5 separate regions of the Homo sapiens genome follow, and all the other regions are linked to region 2. Evidence: promoter capture Hi-C in 16 types of primary human blood cells and fetal thymus (Javierre and others, 2016). All regions are on one chromosome and are shown on one strand. Each heading gives the region's core, a stretch centred on a gene start or on the middle of the fragment in contact. The rest is flanking DNA. Distances are from core to core; before and after follow the strand shown. Region 1 holds the start of LOC124906303 (a long non-coding RNA gene). Region 2 holds the start of ECT2 (epithelial cell transforming 2). Region 3 has its middle 14 kb from the start of RPL22L1. Region 4 overlaps TNIK (TRAF2 and NCK interacting kinase). Region 5 overlaps EIF5A2 (eukaryotic translation initiation factor 5A2).

Evidence for each region. Contacts are between HindIII fragments. The CHiCAGO score rates a contact against its expected background, and 5 or more counts as called.
Region 1: a contact is called between a fragment that was not itself captured here and the fragment with the promoter of ECT2 in region 2, in 2 of 17 cell types (fetal thymus and total CD8 T cells). The highest score is 7.9, in fetal thymus.
Region 3: a fragment that was not itself captured here is called in contact with the fragment with the promoter of ECT2 in region 2 in 1 of 17 cell types (total CD4 T cells); the score reaches 5.2 in total CD4 T cells.
Region 4: a contact is called between a fragment that was not itself captured here and the fragment with the promoter of ECT2 in region 2, in 1 of 17 cell types (total CD4 T cells). The highest score is 6.6, in total CD4 T cells.
Region 5: a contact is called between a fragment that was not itself captured here and the fragment with the promoter of ECT2 in region 2, in 1 of 17 cell types (total CD4 T cells). The highest score is 6.1, in total CD4 T cells.

The regions. Positions count from the first base shown.
Region 1 is chr3:171,456,921-171,460,230 of GRCh38, reverse strand. TNIK (TRAF2 and NCK interacting kinase) reads left to right here. Exons shown (of 33, transcript NM_015028.4): 1 at 1-224. The coding sequence starts at 168. It overlaps LOC124906303 (a long non-coding RNA gene), which reads left to right and starts at 2,060. Exons shown (of 2, transcript XR_007096168.1): 1 at 2,060-2,285. It overlaps LOC102724479 (a long non-coding RNA gene), which reads right to left and starts at 1,013. Exons shown (of 3, transcript NR_189068.1): 1 at 840-1,013. RefSeq lists a silencer at 137-196. The HindIII fragment of the contact is 3,387 bases long and covers 127-3,310 here.
Region 2 is chr3:172,749,433-172,753,034 of GRCh38, reverse strand. It overlaps ECT2 (epithelial cell transforming 2), which reads right to left and starts at 2,309. Exons shown (of 25, transcript NM_001258315.2): 1 at 2,178-2,309. RefSeq lists a silencer at 1,894-1,963 and enhancers at 2,074-2,333, 2,354-2,403, 2,504-2,773. The HindIII fragment of the contact is 5,304 bases long and covers 1-2,655 here.
Region 3 is chr3:170,854,726-170,858,523 of GRCh38, reverse strand. No RefSeq gene overlaps it. Among named protein-coding and RNA genes, the nearest start is that of RPL22L1, 14 kb to the left of the region's middle. The HindIII fragment of the contact is 1,328 bases long and covers 814-2,141 here.
Region 4 is chr3:171,247,867-171,251,226 of GRCh38, reverse strand. The region is part of intron 2 of TNIK (TRAF2 and NCK interacting kinase); the gene reads left to right. Among named protein-coding and RNA genes, the nearest start is that of MIR569, 140 kb to the right of the region's middle. RefSeq lists an enhancer at 49-128. The HindIII fragment of the contact is 2,145 bases long and covers 1,013-3,157 here.
Region 5 is chr3:170,893,830-170,897,637 of GRCh38, reverse strand. It overlaps EIF5A2 (eukaryotic translation initiation factor 5A2), which reads left to right. Exons shown (of 5, transcript NM_020390.6): 4 at 3,215-3,346. Among named protein-coding and RNA genes, the nearest start is that of EIF5A2, 13 kb to the left of the region's middle. The HindIII fragment of the contact is 8,845 bases long and covers 1-3,808 here.

The DNA.
Region 1 (3,310 bases), core at 571-3,070, 1.3 Mb after region 2:
GAGGATCGGGATCCGGCGCTGTGGGGCTGGGGTGGGCGGGGGAGGCTGGGCCCGGGGCCTCTGGCGCGACACCCGCATGAGGACGCGAGTGAAATAGACCAAGGTGGAATTTCCAAGGGAAAAGCTTCGGGGTGGTTTTGGTCCATTTCTCCAGCGAAGAAGTAGACATGGCGAGCGACTCCCCGGCTCGAAGCCTGGATGAAATAGATCTCTCGGCTCTGAGGGTGAGCAGGACGTTTTCTGGTTTCTTTCCAGTGGTTTGGGTTAGGGTGAATGGGCTCGGTGCGTGGACTGGGGGCTGGGGCTGGGGCAGGGGGACAGCAGCGGGAGAATGCGTCGGGGAGGGAACCTGGATTCCCGTTTTGATTCGGGGTTGCTGAGGTGCTCCTGGCTGAGCCCCTACGGCAGGGGCTGTGCGGTACGTGTCTTCCTCTGGCCGTGGCTTAGGCTCTCCCGAGGGCTCGTAGAGCTTATGCCAGTTTCATCTTATACCGGTGTAAGAGCATTAAAATGAAAGGCGTGTGTGCGTGTGTGTGTGTGTGTGTGTGTGTGTGTACACGCCCCGGGCAGTTGTCTGGTGCCAAGGCGCGAGACCCGACTGTCCCTTCTGCAAAAAGAATGCCAGCGTGAATAAAGGCACTGGCCCCTCACGTTTTCCAGCTACCTGCAAGATGACATTGTGAGGCTGGCTGTCCCCGCGAAGCCGAACCTGCCGCTCCAAGGGGGCAGTTATTGCTATGCTGGTCTTGTAGATGGCAACTGCCTCCCCCTCCCCCTTTTCTACCTCCCGCGCCCGGGCGCCCTCTCAGCGCTCCCTTAAATGCCAGTCTGCCACTCACCTTTATTTATGGCTTTAACTCAGCCCTGCCTGTTCTTTCTGACTTTGTGGCTGTAACGTTTCAGTTTTATGGCTGAACTTAAGCAGGTGAAAGGGATGTGTTTTCTGCTTTTCCTCAATCAGACCGGAACTCCCTGGAGTGTGTGCGAGTGTGTGTGTGTGTGTGTCTGTGTGTGTTTTCCCCGTGTCTGTGGCCAGTCCTTTGTAGAGCACCTCCCTCCCCCCAGCCCCACTGGTTTGCGTTTACCTTCACGTGAATTACCTCAGACGCCGTTTCATTGTATTGACTAAGACATCACTGATATAGAATCCATTTTGCTGTTGTTTTGAGATCAGAATACCAGGAATCCAAGTGCTGCTTCGACGCTTCCCCACCCCCAACTCCCGATCCCAACACACTCCTTTGGGGAAGGGGGCAGAGCTTTCTTGCCATTTTAATTAGATGCTGCCTGCCTGGAAGGGGGTGAGGGGTGGGGATGGTGGCAGCAGCGGGTGTCTGAGAAGGATTGGACACCAATTTAAGGACTGCTTCTTCCTCTCCCGAACCAAAAATAAAATTAAAAAGAAAGCGAGTGCATATACTTGATGTATGGAGGGTGGATGAGAAGGAATTCATGGTGGCTCTCTACAGGGAGACACCAGGATGGATGAAGCATGGAAGTTCACACGCCCTCCTGAGGAATACATTGTTAGATTGATGCTGAATCTTGGGGCCATTTACCTGGATTCCTAGTACTTCTGACATTGCCGCTATCTGCACTGATATATTAAAGTGCTACCTTTGTGATCAAAGTGGTACTTTCTCTTTGGTCTCCTTAATTAAACCTTTTCCTCCACATCTCTTTGAATAAGTCTTTCTCTCTTCGTCTTAATCTGTTGGGCTAAGAGATGAGGTTTCAGCAAGGCAAGTAAGGAGTTGAGAAGAAACAGAGATGCCGTTTGAAATGGGCTGTTCTGATAGTTGGGCAGCCAAAGCTCATTCATGCATTATTACAGGAAGCTGTCTATTTCCCTGGAGTGGAAATGCCACATCAAGAACCGGCTGCCCCCTGCGCAGCGGGGTGGGGTTGGTAACAGGGTGGGTGCATTGGCCAGGTCTGTGGCTTCCTGCTTTACCGACTGTGTGTGTTCATTTGCCCTACTTTCTACGCTGGGAGTTGCTGCCGGCGAGTTAATCAGGTGGATGGATGGCCCCGACTGGGGGTGGGGTGCTGCGAATCGGTCGGAGGTCGGGGTGGGGGGCGGGAAGTGGCAAAGGGGGAAGGGGTCTGAACAATGCGCAGGGCTTGCGGTGATTTCCCTGGGCCGGAATCTCGACCTTGCTCCTCTACTGGAAAGCAGTCTGATGTGATTTTAAGTTGGGCCGGGACTTGTCCCTTATGGGCTTTTTCCTCGGGAAGGTTTTCTGAGATACCAAGCACGGAGCCTGCAGGCAGGGGAGCAACCGGTGAGGGCCCACTGGGCGGACGACTGCGGTTCACACTTGGGATGTGCTTTCTTGTGATCTGTATTTTGAAAATATATCTTTGCACAATTCACTGAAATTGCTCTTTGTGGCCTGGGCTATCAGCTTAGGGCTCTGCTTCTGTTTTTCTGCCTGCTGGGAGGTGTGGAAACAGAGAGGGCAACAGCTAGCTTGGGGACCAGGAACTGCTGGCTAGAAGACTTAGATGCAGATGTGGAGACAGTTATATCCTGGAGGGCCAGGGTCTTTGACCAGTCTTGTGGGTGAGGTGTGTCTGCTGGAGTGGGTCCAAAGGCCACATAGGTAATCTCCACAAATCAGAGGGCAGATCATCTCCACCTTGCCACATTTGGAGAGGTGGCCTCATCTAGATGAGATGTCTCATTTGTTCCTAAGCCCTTGGTAAAGTCTGCCTGCTGAGCCCCTCCTGGGGAATGCCTGACCCCTGAAATGCAGCCAAGGTCAGTGGCTTCTGGGAGAATTTGCTGCAGACTTACCAGTCCCTCGCTGTTTCGGTGGCTCTTTAATGTACACAGTCAATGCTCTTTTTGTAAACCCTGGGCTCAAAGCATTAAAAGCAGATCCTGTCTAGAGAGGCCTTTATCCTTCTCACTTTGGGGGCTTATTGTTCTCAGCCAGTGATTCCAGACCGGACCCAGTCTAAATTTTCCCCAAATAGCAACAATGCATAATTTAAACCAGAGCAACCAATGACAGCACTGATCATTTAAATTATGCAAGATTTGCATGGTTTAAAAGTGAGTGAAGCAGGATCTTCTTTGGTTAGAAAATAGGTACTTTGAATCCAGTTTTAGCCCTGATTTTTAGAGCTCAGAGATAAACTAAATCTTGAGGGATGGGCTGGAATTGTTTTATAGATTCAGAGCTGGAAAGAGAATTGTAGAACACTCAGCCACTCCTTTCATTGAACACTTGGGAAACTGAAGCCCAGAGGCGTGAAGTAAGTTGTTCAAGGTCACACAGTAACAAGGGGAGGGGACAGCGAG
Region 2 (3,602 bases), core at 1,060-3,559:
GCAAATATACAGAGGACCCACCTTTAACGAGAGCTACATGTCAGACTTTCCCCTTTCCTACTTCTTCAGATTAATAAAATATACAAATACCTTCCTCCAGAGTCTTAGCAAAGTAACAGTTTAAACTGTATGCTGTTATGTGACACTTCAAAATCAGGCAACTCAGCTTCCTGTCTCAGCCCTGCACATAGTCAGTTAAACCTCAGTTTCCACATTGGTGGAACACACATAGTACTACAACTCAAATCTAGTTAAGATGAAAACTGAATAGATGTCTTAAAGTGAACAACAAACAACTATTCTCATGTAATATTCACAATATGGATATTTCTTATGGCTTTACCATACATCCATGTCAATCATTATTCTAAGGCTCTCCAAAGGAGCGGTCCAATAGTTGTAACAGCCTTAATTTAGAATCAATGATAAATTCTATCCAGCCCTATTATTTTAAGTCTTCTACACTCAACCATTTCCAATGAAAAGGCATTAAAGTGGCTTTCATTCAAAGTCCCCTTAAAAGAATGTTTAAAAAAAAAAAAAAGTCAGGAGATGAGCTAACCTGCTTTAAGGACTGGAAGAGGAAAATCAAAAATACCATTTGAAAGGCCGGACGCGGTGGCTCACACTTGTAATCCTAGCACTTTGGGAGGCCAAGGCGGGCGGATCACGAGGTCAGGAGTTCGAGACCAGCCTGGCCAACACAATGAAACCCCGTCTCTACTAAAAATACAAAAATTAGCTGGGCTTGGTGGCAGGCACCTGTAATCCCAGCTACTCAGGAGGCTGAGGCAGGAGAATCGCTTGAACCCGGGAGGCAGAGGTTGCAGTGAGCCGAGATCGTGCCACTGCACTCCAGTCTAGGTAACAAGAGGTAGACTCCGTCTAAAAAAAAAAAAAAAACTTCTTGAAAATATTTACATTTTTCTCCTATGCCTCCCTCTTTAAGAGGGAGCACAGCAAATGATCAAAAGCAGATGATTAATAAAAGGGAGGGAGCATAGCAGATGATCGAAAGCAGATGATTAATAATTAAAATTGCCCCTGATGATACTGTATATGATCAATTTATTGCCAAAACAGCTTCAAAATGTATAGAGAAAAAGAGATGCACTACGGTAACTTGATGACATAACTAACATCCAACAGTCAGATTAGAAATGGAAATATATTAATCACTTTTTTTCAAATTACTGTATTCCAGAAGCCTTTAAAATAAGCACAATAGGATCAGTGTTCATAAACCTACACAGCTTCTCACCCAAGAACAGACCCAAGGAGCTTCTAACTAAACACACTATAACACATGCCCCCTTTTATCCCAGAGATAAAATTTGCCATGTAAACAAACATTCAAGTTTCCTTTTACTTAAATACTTTTTAGGCAATCATCTTCCAAGGTGAAGGACTAAAATGCAATCCAAGATATAATGGTGGTGTTATTAACAATAACATTACTATTAACAACTGACATTTACTTAACGCTTAATACGTGGCAGACATTGTCCTAAACCTTTTAATCTCTGCAGTAATCCTAAGAGGCAGGTACTATTATTATTTTCAATGTATGGATGAAGAAACGTAGGAACAGAGAGGTTAAGCAACTTCCCCTAAGTCAAACTGTTAGTAAGGGGTAAAAGAGGTATTCAAAGCCCGGCTAAATCCAGAGGCTGCGCCTTTAACCACTAAGCCGGACACATCTGTGCCGGGTGGCTGGGGAGGACGAGGGGCGGATGGCCTGGATTTATCTTGCAAAAACGAAAAATTAAACTTCCCGCAAAGAAGCCAGGATGAATCCTAGAATAAAACCACGGCGCACTCTGAGATAAGCCCCCAAAGGCTGCAAGTGCCGGCCCCCAAAGCCACAGGGCTGCGCGGCTTGCCAAAATCCCTTTCCCAACTCCCTCCCTTCACCCACACTCTTCTGTCCAAAAGAGCCAACAGGTGAGGGCGAAGATGCCCAGCAATACTGGGGGCTTCGGTCTCCCACTCCGCGTCAGGGCCCGGCTGCTGGGGGTGGGGTGCGGCGAGGGAGTTCCCGGATCCGGGAAGCCTGAGCTGGGGCGCTCCGGAATTCGCGGTCACTAGGGGCGGGGACGTCGACCGCAGGCAAAAGAGCCCTTGGCTCTGGAGCCGCTCGCCCACTTGCACCTCTCTCACTCACACAGAGTCCTTACCACTCTCAAAAAAGCCCTAGGAGTTCCACCTCTTCAAACGCCGACTCCTCTCACAAATACCGCCATTCCTCGCCGGCGGCCGCCACAACCGATTCAAAAACTAAGCTGCTCTCTCTAAGAGCCATGCCGATTGGCGCGTGATGTCAACCTCTTTCCCATAGGCAGGAGTCTCCAGAGGGGCGGTGATTGGTCGACGCTCTCCAAGTCCCGGCAGGCGCCGCTTGATTGGTTGTGCGTGTGTTTCAAATAAGCCCAACGACTCGGGCGTCGGGACGCCAGGAGTTTGCAGAGAAGTGCCCGGATGTGGCCAGGAGGTGGCGGTGGTGGCTCCTGAGGTCTTAAAGGAGTAGCAGGTGTTTCTGTGACTACCGCATATTTACTCAGTAAACATCCTACTTCCTGAGGAAAGTTTGGGTGGATTCTCCTCGGCCCCACCCAGCTTTTTTTTTTTTTTAAACGATACCAAATCTTTTAAGCTTAAATCAGTGCCGCCAGAGATAAATGTTTCCCTGCTGCTTGCTGTGAGCTGTAGGATTTTCCTATCGGGATGCTTTCTGCTTTAGGAATGTATTTAAATTTGAGTTAAGGGATTTTGACTTTGATGGTTGTATTGGCGTGTGGCAGGGCCAAGGACCGGTCCTAGAACTCGGACTCCCCAGGTGGACTTCAAATCAGCAGCCGCTTATTTAAATGCTATTATTTAAAGCACTGCGCTCCCATCTAGGGAGTATCGCGGGTTAGAATCAATTCTTAGAAATTAGAAAAATTCTCGGATTTTTTTAAAGATAAGCTTGAATTTGATAAAAATATGCCACGAGATTCTAGAATTTTTGGAGCCAAATTGCTTCGTCTTTGCCCCCCTCCGCCCACTAAGAACTTGTACTTTCCCCTAAAGTCTAGTCAAGAATGTATCAAGTTTTTCCTGTGATTAGCGTTGCTATTATGAAAATAATTTCTTTATTTTCTAAATATGATACCATATAACACAATCTCTTAAGAAAAATACACCCCCACCAGGTGGGTTTTCCATAGTTCCCACCTGAAGGCTAATATAAATAGAAGAAGAAAGGGGAATCAGATGCCAGAACCTAAATACCAATAAGAAGAGGCAAACGTGTACTTTGGGATGGAACACTTGTGAGCATCTCAAGCAGGTTGTGGGGACTTAACAATTTTTTCTAATTTTGTCAGGCAATCTTAGAATGCCTGAAAAGTTTATAATGCTGTCCACAAAATGAATGAAGCAATCTGGTAATTATTGGTTTCCCTGCTTGTCAGTATTTAAGTCTGACCTTCATTAAAATGCTGTGATAACTGTTACGGCAGAAAAAAAGAAAAACAGTAATTGAAATTTCCATTTGGAATGTGCTTGCGTATTTGGAAGTCGGGTGTGCCCAGCATTCCAAAAACGTTCATCACTGAAAA
Region 3 (3,798 bases), core at 228-2,727, 1.9 Mb after region 2:
AATTTCCTGCCTCAGATCTGGAGTCATCCGTTTTTTTGTTGTTGTTGTTTGCTTGTTTTTTTGAGACAGAGTCTTGCTCTATCACCCAGGCTAAGTGCAGTGGCGCGATCTTGGCTCACTGCAACCTCCGCCTCCCAGGTTCAAGTGATTCTCCTGCCTCAGCCTCCTGAGTATCTGGGACTACAGGCATGTGCCACCATGCCTGGCTAACTTTTGTATTTTTAGTAGAGACGTGGTTTCGCCATGTTGGCCAGGCTGGGCTTGAACTCCTGACTTCAAGTGATCCTCCTACCTTGGCCTCCCAAAGTGCTGGGATTACAGGGGTCAGCCAGTGTGCCTGGCCAGGAGTCATCCATTTCTACAAGGAGCTCTGGACTATTTTCTAGGTGCTGGAGATGCTTGTCATTACTGGGGTGGTGTTTGTTTCTAGGCCTTTTGAGTGGACAGAGTGAAGGAATACATTTTTGTTCTTAAGAGGAAATGATATGTTTATTCTGATGCTTCCAATTCAAAATCAGGATAAAAGAGTTTTTATTTCATCAATTGTATGACCATATCTCTTTTTTCCCATGCTGAAAGTTCCAGTTCTCAATGACACCAACACAAATGCTCATTTGCTTTATCTCACAATATACACATAATAGTTTCAATAAAATAATACCAACAAAACTACCTATAATATAATGACTTTACAGCTTAAGATTGTTTTGCAGTTCTTTTTGTCCTTATGGTATATCCCACTAGAAATGAACAAAGTTTCGTGTTTTAAAGTCACTAGAAATGATTCATCTCTGTGTGGGCGTAGAACAAGCTTGATACACAGAGTCATTTGTTTCATTTTGCTTTTGATTAAAAAGTTTGCTTAAGCCCACTTTGTTTTTTATAATTCTGTAAAATATTTACAGGATTCTAAAGTCCAATCTACAAAACAAAGTATATTTAGAAAAGTCTAGTTTCTCTGTCTTTTTTTTTTTTTTGAGACAGAGTCTCGCTCTGTTACCCAGGCTGGAGTGCAGTGGTACAATCTCAGTTCACTGCAACCTCTGCCTCCTGGGTTCAAGCAATTCTCCTGCCTCAGCCTCCTGGGTAGCTGGGACTACCAGCTCCTGCCACCACACCCGGCTAATTTTTGTATTTTTAGTAGAGAAGGGGTTTCACTATATTGGCCAGGCTGGCCTCGAACTCCTGAACCTGTGATCCACCCGCCTTGGCCTCCCAAAGTGCTGGGATTACAGGTATGAGCCACCGTGCCCAGCCCCTAGAGAGGAGTTGTAAACCTGAGACTTACAGGTCAAAAGATAAATGAATGTGTAATTTCTAGATATTGCTGAATTTCCCTTTACAGGGGTTGTAGCATTTTGCTCTCCCACTAGCCTTCCCACCAGCAATCTGTGAAATCTGTTTTCCTGTAGACACACCAAGAGATAACCTTGTCCAATTTGAGGCTTAACTGACAGGTGAGACCTGGTTTTCAGGGTAATTTTCCTTTGCATTGTATTTGTGAGTGAGGTTGAATGTCAATAAGGGTCATTTGCATATCTTTCTCTGTGAGCTGCCTGTTTATATCTCTAATATATATCTGTGGAATTCTTGTTTTTATTTTTAATTTTTTACTTTTAGAAGCTCCCTCTATGTTAAGGCTATTAACTCCTTGTGTGTGATGTAAATTACAATTTCTTTTTTCAGCTTCTCATTTGTCTTTTTCCCCTACTTATGGTATTTTTGTTTTTTAACTTTTTTTTGAGACAAGCCCTTGCTCTGTTGCCTAGGCTGGATCATGGCTCACTGCGTCCTTGACTTCGTAGATTCAAGCCATCCTCCCACCTCAGTCTCCTGAGTAGCTGAGACTACAGGCACACACCACTACCTGGCTCATTTTTTAAAAAATTTGGGTAGAGATGGGGTCTTGCTATATTGCTCAGGCTGGTCTTGAATTCCTGAGTTCAAACAATCCTCCTGCCTGAGCCTCCCAAAGTGCTATTATTGCAGGTGTGAGCCACCATACCCAGCTGCTATTTTTCTTTTGTTTTATTACTAGTTTTCATTTTGTTTTGTTGTAGTTGTTGCTATAGAAGCATTATTTTTATTTTTATGTAATTAAATCAATTAACTTTTTTCTTATTGCCATGGTTAGAAAAGCTTTCCCCGTTATCAAGAATTCATTTATGTTTTCTGCTAGTACTTACATATTTTCATCTTAAAAAAATGTAGGTCTCTATTCTATTTGGAATTTATCCTGGTTTACAATTTGAGAAGTGGATCCAATTATACCTTTTTCCCATGTGACTACCCACCTATACCATTACCCCTGATGAAAAAGTTCCCAGGAAGTTTTGCTTAGCATAGGTTTTCCTACTTACTGTCTGGAAACCCTTGTATGTGGTCATGCTGAAGGGACTGGAGTCTAGATATATAGCTTCAGTGTGTGCTCTTTTACAAGCTGGATGATTAAAATGCCAGGAAGGCCAGTTTTAAACAATGTGTTGCATTTACAAATGGCTTTCTCTTTTCTTTTGATCCCTTAACAGCCCTCTGTGGCACAATATTATCTTCCCATTTTTCAGATGAAAAAACCAGGTCTCAGGTTTACTGGCTTGCCCATGGTCACACCATGGCACCCACCTCTCACTCCTCACCCAGTGCTCCTCCCACACACGGGGCCATGTCACACATCCTGCCTCTCTGTTGCCTACTAGCTTTGTGACCTTGGACACATCTCTTCACCCTCTGGGCCTCAGTTTCCCCTTCTGTATATAAAGAAGTGGTTAAAAATAGGTCAGCATTTCTCGGGCTTTAGTAACACCTGCTTCCTTTTGATAAACACAGATATTTCTCATGTTCCTTGTTCCCAGTTCCAATTGCCACCCTGTGATATAACTGATGCATAAATATCCCCACCAACCAAGGTATTTTGGGGCTTTCTATTCTGAAACAAAACAAAGTAAGATTTTTGGGATAATTTTCCCACTATAAACTCATAATATTGGATATACCTTTTTTTTTTTTTTTTTTTTTTTTTTTTTGAGACGGAGTCTTGCTGTGTCGCCAGGCTGGGGTGCAGTGGCGCAATCTCGGCTCACTGCAACTTCCGCCTCCCAGGTTCAAGCGATTCTCCTGCCTCAGCCTCCTGAGTAGCTGGGATTACAGGCCCACACCACCACACCTGGCTAATTTTTTGTATTTTAGTAGAGATAGGGTTTCACCAGGTTGGCCAGGATGGTCTCGGTCTCCTGACCTCATGATACACACAAGCTTCTTGAGAGTAACATACTTCCCCCATGATAAGGCTTTTTTTTTCTGTCCTAAAATCCTATGAGTTAATGAGCCAAACTGGGAATCATGATCTGCTATCTCAATTATGATGGAATAGATATGTTTTCTCCCAAGGGAGGGAACACTGCAACTCCTCTCTCCCTCTTTCTCTGAGATGGGGAGGTGTGAATTACAGATTCCATACATGTCACAAATATATGGTCAATGATTTCTGCCTTGGCAGTCGCAGTCATGGGAGATGATGGGTGAGTTATATATACTCTCTGCACTCAAGGAAATCCCAGTTCTAACGAGGGGAGCAAATGTGGGTACAAATGACTTTAGGTAAGTGTGGTTCATGCAGTAATAGAGATATTACAAAATGCTTTAGAAGCACCAATACCATAATGAGTGGGAAAAGGAATCCAAGAAGGCCTTCTGCAGGAGGTGGCTTACCCTGACTTCTCTTTAAGGAAGAATGGGAATTGATGGGGCAGAGAAGAAGAGGGAGAGAATTCCAGGCTGAGGAGGAATGGTGATAGTGGC
Region 4 (3,360 bases), core at 836-3,335, 1.5 Mb after region 2:
TGTTGTCTGTTCCTGCTGTTCTCTGCTGTCTGTATCTGCTGTTCTTCCCAGACCACAGGCAGGTTCCAACATGTGCTTTAATTTAGTCTCATCTCTCATAGGATGTTGCCCACCTTTAACCTGTCTGGTAGTTGATGTGTGTACATGATACCTTTTGTTGGGTTATTCTGGTTTTCCTTCTGCTGTTTAGATGAGAGCTTCAGTCATTCTTTGGTCACTCAAACACTTTCAGACATAATAACACACTAGGCTTGTGACCATTTGGTATTTGGGGTCTTTGAATAATGTACACTGTATTTTGACAGTGGTCTGGGACACCATCAATTGATAATTGTTGCAGCAGAGGATTGCAAGATAAAAACAAATCTCTGTCATGAAAGTCAGAAATCCCAAATGTAGAATAATAATGGAAGTTTGTAGCATTTTTAGAGCACTATATGGTTTACAAAACTTTCACATTAGCTATTTTAGTTCTTATAACGGCCTTAAGTATCATTTCTCTGATTTTAGTGTGGAAACTGAGATCTAAAGAGATCTGAATGATTTCCTCATGGTCACACAGCCAGTGAGTGACAGAACTGAAGGTATCTGACCACAGGGCCTGTGTTGTTCCCACCTCCCACAGCTGAAGGAGTTGGAGTTCCTACTTTTCTCTGAGCTAGCTGCATGGCTTTAGAGAAGTAGGATGGAAGGGGTTAATATCAGTGGACATGAATGTCTCTAATATTCTTCATTTCTAATTTTTTAAGTCTATCAGGTTTGGACACGAAATTTTTAAAGGGCATGATTTAGATTTCTAGGAATCCCTGTTTCTGAATATTTTGGGGGACTAGGGCTTAGGTTACATCTTGGAATTTTTAAGGTACTGGAGCTATTTAACCCAAATCTCACTACCACAAAGAAGCTGTCCATCCATCAACACCATTTTCCCAGGCAAACAAGACTGGGTCAGTCTCTCCAAGGCCTGTCCCATGAAAATTAGAGGGTGCTGGCATTACCAGAAAGCAAAGCTTCCATCCAGGTATGGATGAGCTACTTCTGAGAAGGGAGTAATCAGTATGGACTGAAGTAAATGGGAATTCTTCCTGAACATGTGCCATCAAGCTATAGAGCAGAAGTTGGGTGAAATTTGAAAGGCGGAGTAACAAAGGCAGAAGCATGCAGGCATCGCTAAGAGCTTGGCCTTACCAGCTGGCTGACTTTGGGACTGTGCTTTGCTCTCTTCATTAGTATAATGGGGGTGGTAGTAGCACCTACTTCACATGGGCAATGTGGGGATTAAATAGTAATCATGTAAAACCTTAGCCTGACAAGTTGATATACAGTAAAAGCAAACTATTAGTTACTAGCTCAGTAAGAAACCAGGATAGCTAGGAACAGTTAGGGAGTCTAGGTAGGTTGGGTTGGGTGGGTTGGATTGGTTCCAACTGACAGGGAAAGACGCTACTTGCCTCAAGAGTGGATGAAATAAATAGCTATGGAATAACTGTATATGCTTTCCTGCAGGCTCCTCACTTAATATATATCGTACAAGACAGTAATAGCTAATATCATAGGCAGCAAATTTGACATTTGTTCATTTGTCTTTTTGTAATGAATTATTTGAGGTGAATTATGCTGATGTGTACCACCATCATTCCATTTGAATATGTGTCTTAATGTATAATGTCCTAAGGGCTGCCCAGGACTGGTGAGCAGTAACTCACTGCAGGAGGCCCCTAATTTGCCATTTCCACACCACTGCCCCATCCCTCCAGCCCCCTTAAGTTGGCAGCAGGCCACTCTGTCTTGTCTAGTAATGGTGATGGAGAGCCTGAGTGATTCTTAATCAAAGAAAATGACAACTCCATTTACATTTGTACAGATCTGATATTCACATTTGGATGTATGCCTAAAGGTACCTGGGTTGAAAATATGTGGTGTAACATTGCTTTATCTTCCTAAATCATCCTGACACAGCCTTGGACTTAATAGGGAGTGGGACCCAGAATTATGAAATAATAGCAGACATGCCACTGGAGGCTGAAATTTATGTTTTATGAGATAAAGTGGTTCTTAACTATTTTTGTTGCCATGTTCAATAGCTAGTTACTTTTAATGTTTCTATAATAAGAAAACAGTATGCAAAGATACACTTTAACAGAATTTCATAAGCTCCTACACTATGGGTAATAACCAGAGTTCTGAAAATAAAACCGTTACTTTCACTTGCATTTTAAGTCAGATTGATAGCTTTCTTTCATTTATAACGTCGTCCTAGTCTGAAAGCAAAATCACCATTTTATTATTTCTTATTCAAAGGCTGAAAGAAAAAGGTACCAAGTAAAATGATTTTGTATGACAAGGTCAATAAGACTTGGCAGCAAAGACTTGGATTGAAACTTTAGCCTTGCCATTAACCAGCTGTGATGTTGAATAAGTCATCTAGTCCTTGTCTCACTTGTAAAATGGTATAATATTGATACTATAGTTATATTGCTATTACCTGGAATGACACCCCACTCTTATTATTCACAACCTGGACTTTTTATGACCCAGGTCTGTTTTGCTTTTAAAATCTTAAATGTACAGCATCCCAATCTTAGACCACAGCCTTTGATGCTTCCAGCCTGTACTCCCTCACACCCTACACACCTGTTCTTTGATGTTGACTAAGCCCTCGGGTCTTTTGTCAGTCTCTCAGTCCCCATGAAACTTTAATAACTTGTCTCTCCAGCCTTGGGCCTCATGATTTCTTAGTTTAATCATTTTTAGCCAACATGTACTATCTCCTTTATCCTTTGTTCTTCCATAATATCCACCTTGCAGACCCCTTCCCTAAGGTCAGTCTAGCTGTTTATTTTTCTGCATTTGGGCTGCACAGCTCAACTCAGCACTGCTTAATAATCAACTGTGTATGTACCTGCTCAGTTCCTTCTCCTGTTTTCCCTGGAATAGTTGCTCCCAATCTCCACCACTCTCCTCTCCTCCCTTCCGCTGCCCCTGCCTTCATTGTTCTCCACAGGTGACCTTCTTCTATGCCTTTTAGAAAAACTGGAGCCATTGGACAGGTATCCCTTATTGGGTAAATATCCCACAGGTCTCCCTCTGCCTTTCTTCTCAAACTCATCTTCTTCCCACATTCTTACCTTCTTTCATCCTAACTCAATGTAAAGCTTTTCCCTCTGTGTGAGAGGACTCCTCCTGCTGTTTCTGTTGTCTCCTCCCTTGCCCAGAATTGCCCCTTTCCTCCCAGCCTGCAGTCATCTTCAGCGAGACCTCAGGACTAGTTTCATCTCTTTTCAGACCAAGCAACTTTTTTCTACCCTCTTTGCCTCCACATAGTCACCTCCCATTTTTTCCTTCACTCTATACAAACTG
Region 5 (3,808 bases), core at 1,087-3,586, 1.9 Mb after region 2:
ATCTAGGCGGAGGCTCCCAAACCTCAACTCTTGCCTTCTGTGTACCTGCAGGCCCAACACCACATGGAAGCCACCAAGGATTAGGGCTTACACTCTCTGAAGCAACAGCCCAAGCTGTACCTTGACCCCTTTTAGCCACAGCTGGAGCTGGAGTGGCTGGGACACAGGGCACCAAGTCCCGAGGCTATACAGAGCAGCAGGGCTCTGGGCCTGGCCCATGAAACCATTTTTCCCTCCTAGGCCTCTGGACCTGTGTTGGGAGGGGATGCCATGAAGATATCTGGAATGCCCTGGAGACATTTTCCCCATTGTCTTGGCTATTAATATTCAGCTCCTTGTAACTTATGCAAATTTCTGCAGCTGGCTTGAATTTCTTCCCAGAAAATGGGTTTTTCTTTTCTACTACATGGTCAGGATGTACATTTTTCAAACTTCTATGCTATGCTTCCCTTTTAAACATGAGCTCCAGTTTCAGATCATCTCTTCATGAATGCATATGACTGTACACTTTCAAAAAAAGCCAGGTTACCTCTTGCACACTTTGCTGCTTAGAAATTTCTTATGCCAGGTAACCTAAATCATCTCTCTCAAGTTCATAGTTCCACAGATCTCTAGGGCAGGGCAAAATGCTGCCAGTCTCTTTGCTAAAGCACGGCAGGAGTGACCTTTGTTCCAGTTCCCAGTGAGTTCCTCATCTCCATCTGAAACCACCTCAGCCTGGACTTCACTGTCCATATCATTGTCAGCATTTTGTTCAAATCCATTCAACAAGTCTCTAGGAAGTTTCAAATTCTCCCTCATCTTTCTTTCTTCTGAGCCCTCTAAACTGTTGCAGTCTCTGCCTGTTACCCAGTTCCAAAGTTGTTTCCTTATTTTCAGGCATCTTTATAGCAGTGGCCCAAACTCCTGGTACCAATTTTCTGTATTAGTCCTTTTTCACACTGCTATAAAGAACTACCTGAGACTGGGTAATTTATAAAGAAAAGAAATTTAATTGAGTCACAGTTCCACATGGCTATGGAGGCCTCAGGAACCACGGCAGAAGGCGAAGGGGAAGCAAGGCACATCTTACATGGCAGCAGGAGATACAGCAAGTGAGGGGGGAACTGCTAAACACTTTGAAGAGAACTCACTCACTATCATGACAACAGCATTGCGGAGACTGACCCCATGATCCAATTGCGTCCCACCAGCTCCCTCCCTCGACATGTGGGGATTACAATTCAAGATGAGATTTGGGTGGGGACACAGAGCCAAACCATATCAAAGATTAAATAATTCATTCTCATTATTTTTGTTTTTCGTAGCTTAGTTTTATTTTTGAAAACTAATTGTATTTAATATAGCAATTTATCTTAATGTTTAATGTTTGTAAATGCATTGTTTTACTAGATGTTTTATATATTTGTACATCTGAAATGCTTTATATATTTCATTCCACAGTTTATGATTCTTAACTCTTAAAAAATAAAATAGCTCCATTACATACATCATTTTCAAAATATCAGTATTATTATTTGGCTTCTGTGTTTCAGTCACTAGTGGCACAGTACGAACATTTAACTCTTGAAATAGACAAGCTGTGCTTTAGGGAATTACTAAAAGAACAGAAATCAGAAAGATTTGTCTTGGAATGTTGTGGTTGTTTAAAAATTACACTTCAAGCTAGGTGCATTGGTGCACACCTATAGTCCCAGCTCCTTGGAAGGCTAAAGCAGAGGCTCACTTGACCCCAGGAGTTCGAGGCCAGCCTAGGCAATATAATGAGACGCCCATCTTTAAAAATATATATATTTTTTAAAAAGTTACACTTCTACCTCAACCTCCTTGCTCCCACTTCTCTACCAGCCACCTCACAAATATTTGAGGGTCTAAGAGGTTAGTTAAAAGTCTTTGTTGTAGCTCTGTAGGATTTCTTATTTTTGAGATTTCTAGACATATAAAAACTCAAATTTCCTGTGATAGATGGAGTTTCTGTGGAGAGCCATAGGCAGTTTTGGTAGATGGTGTATGTGGAGGAGAGCAATCCCAACGATATGCCTGGGTTATATCATAGTGGTTACAGGGGTTCAAGGACCATTGTCTTTGACTCCTTTTGTAGATATTAGTAGCTGGTATTCTGGATGGTAGCCTTTTATAAAACATGTTAGGATTCGAGGCATACTAATAGTGTACATGCTTTTATTAATAGAATAAATGAGTGGAGGTTGGTTGTTTACTCATTCCTGTAGTAAAAGAAGTTCAGTGGTATCAAAACCGTGCTTTTTTGCAGGTTGGGTTGACAACTGGGTTTTTTTTTTTCACTAATGTTATCCATACACTAGTGGATTTTGTTGTTGTTGTTGTTGTTGACTGAAGACCAAAAGTTTTCCACTTAATTTTGTTCATACTCAAATTAGAAAATGCATTGTTTGTAATAGCAAAAATAACTTTTATGCCCAGTAATGTGAAATTGGTTAAATCAGTAATAGTATGTCCATGCAGATATGTGGTAGTTAACTAAGGTAGGTTTACATTTTCTGCTTAGAAAGTATTTATAAGACATATTATTAAGTCAAAACAGCTCACTGTAAAGTACTTATAATATCTCTTTTTTTTTTTTTTTTTTTTTTGAGACAGAGTCTCGCTCTGTCGCCCAGGCTGGAGTGCAGGGGCACGATCTTGGCTCACCGCAAGCTCCACCTCCTGGGTTCACGCCATTCTCCTGCCTCAGCCTCCCAAGTAGATGGGACTACAGGTGTCTGCCACCACACCTGGCTAATTTTTTGTATTTTTAGTAGAGATGGGGTTTCACCGTGTTAGCCAGGATGGTCTCAATCTCCTGACCTCATGATCCGCCCGCCTCGGCCTCCCAAAGTGCTGGGATTACAGGCGTGAGCCACCGCACTTGGCCCAATATCCCATTTTGATTAAAAAAAAAAACAAAACAGCAACTATATTTATTTTGTGAACATAAATGGAATACACTATAAAGAAACCTAAACTGTTTAACAAGGCAGAGATTGGGTATGGGAAGTACCGGGAGGAGTAAACTTATATTTCCATTCTGTACATATTTTATATTTTTTATATTTTTAGCATTTTAAATACCAAGAATATTAATATATTACTGTATACTTATATGAATTAATATCAATTGCAATTTAACTATGTAAGCATTACACAGAAGTGGATATAATCTAATCAGCACAAATGATATAATTTCTTCTAATAGCTGATATGCATTCAAGATGGTTACCTTTCCCTGCTGACAGAAACTGGTGAAGTTCGTGAGGATCTTAAACTGCCAGAAGGTGAACTAGGCAAAGAAATAGAGGGAAAATACAATGCAGGTGAAGATGTACAGGTAAAGACTTAGAGAAGGATTATTTTTGAAAACCATTTTATAAAAACTTTGACCTCAACTAGTTAACATAAAATACTACATATGGAATGTGGTTTAAAAATACTGCTAAAATGTTGAAAATGATCTCTCAGGCAGGTTTTCCATAAAACCCTTAGAGACTCATTATCAAAGAAAGTATCAAAGTTCATTTTTGCTACATCAGCATTACTCTCAAACCCAAATTTGTTTTGAAGCTCTGCACCTGACTTTTTTTTTTTTTTTGAGACGGAGTCTCCCTCTGTCACCCAGGCTGGAGTGCAGTGGCGTGATCTCGGCTCATTGCAACCTCCGCGTCCCAGGTTCAAGCGATTCTCCCCTCAGCCTCCTGAGTAGCTGGGATTGCAGGCGCGTGCCACCACATCTGGCTAATTTTTGTATTTTTAGTAAAGATTGGGTTTCAGCATGTTGGCCAAGCTGGTTTTG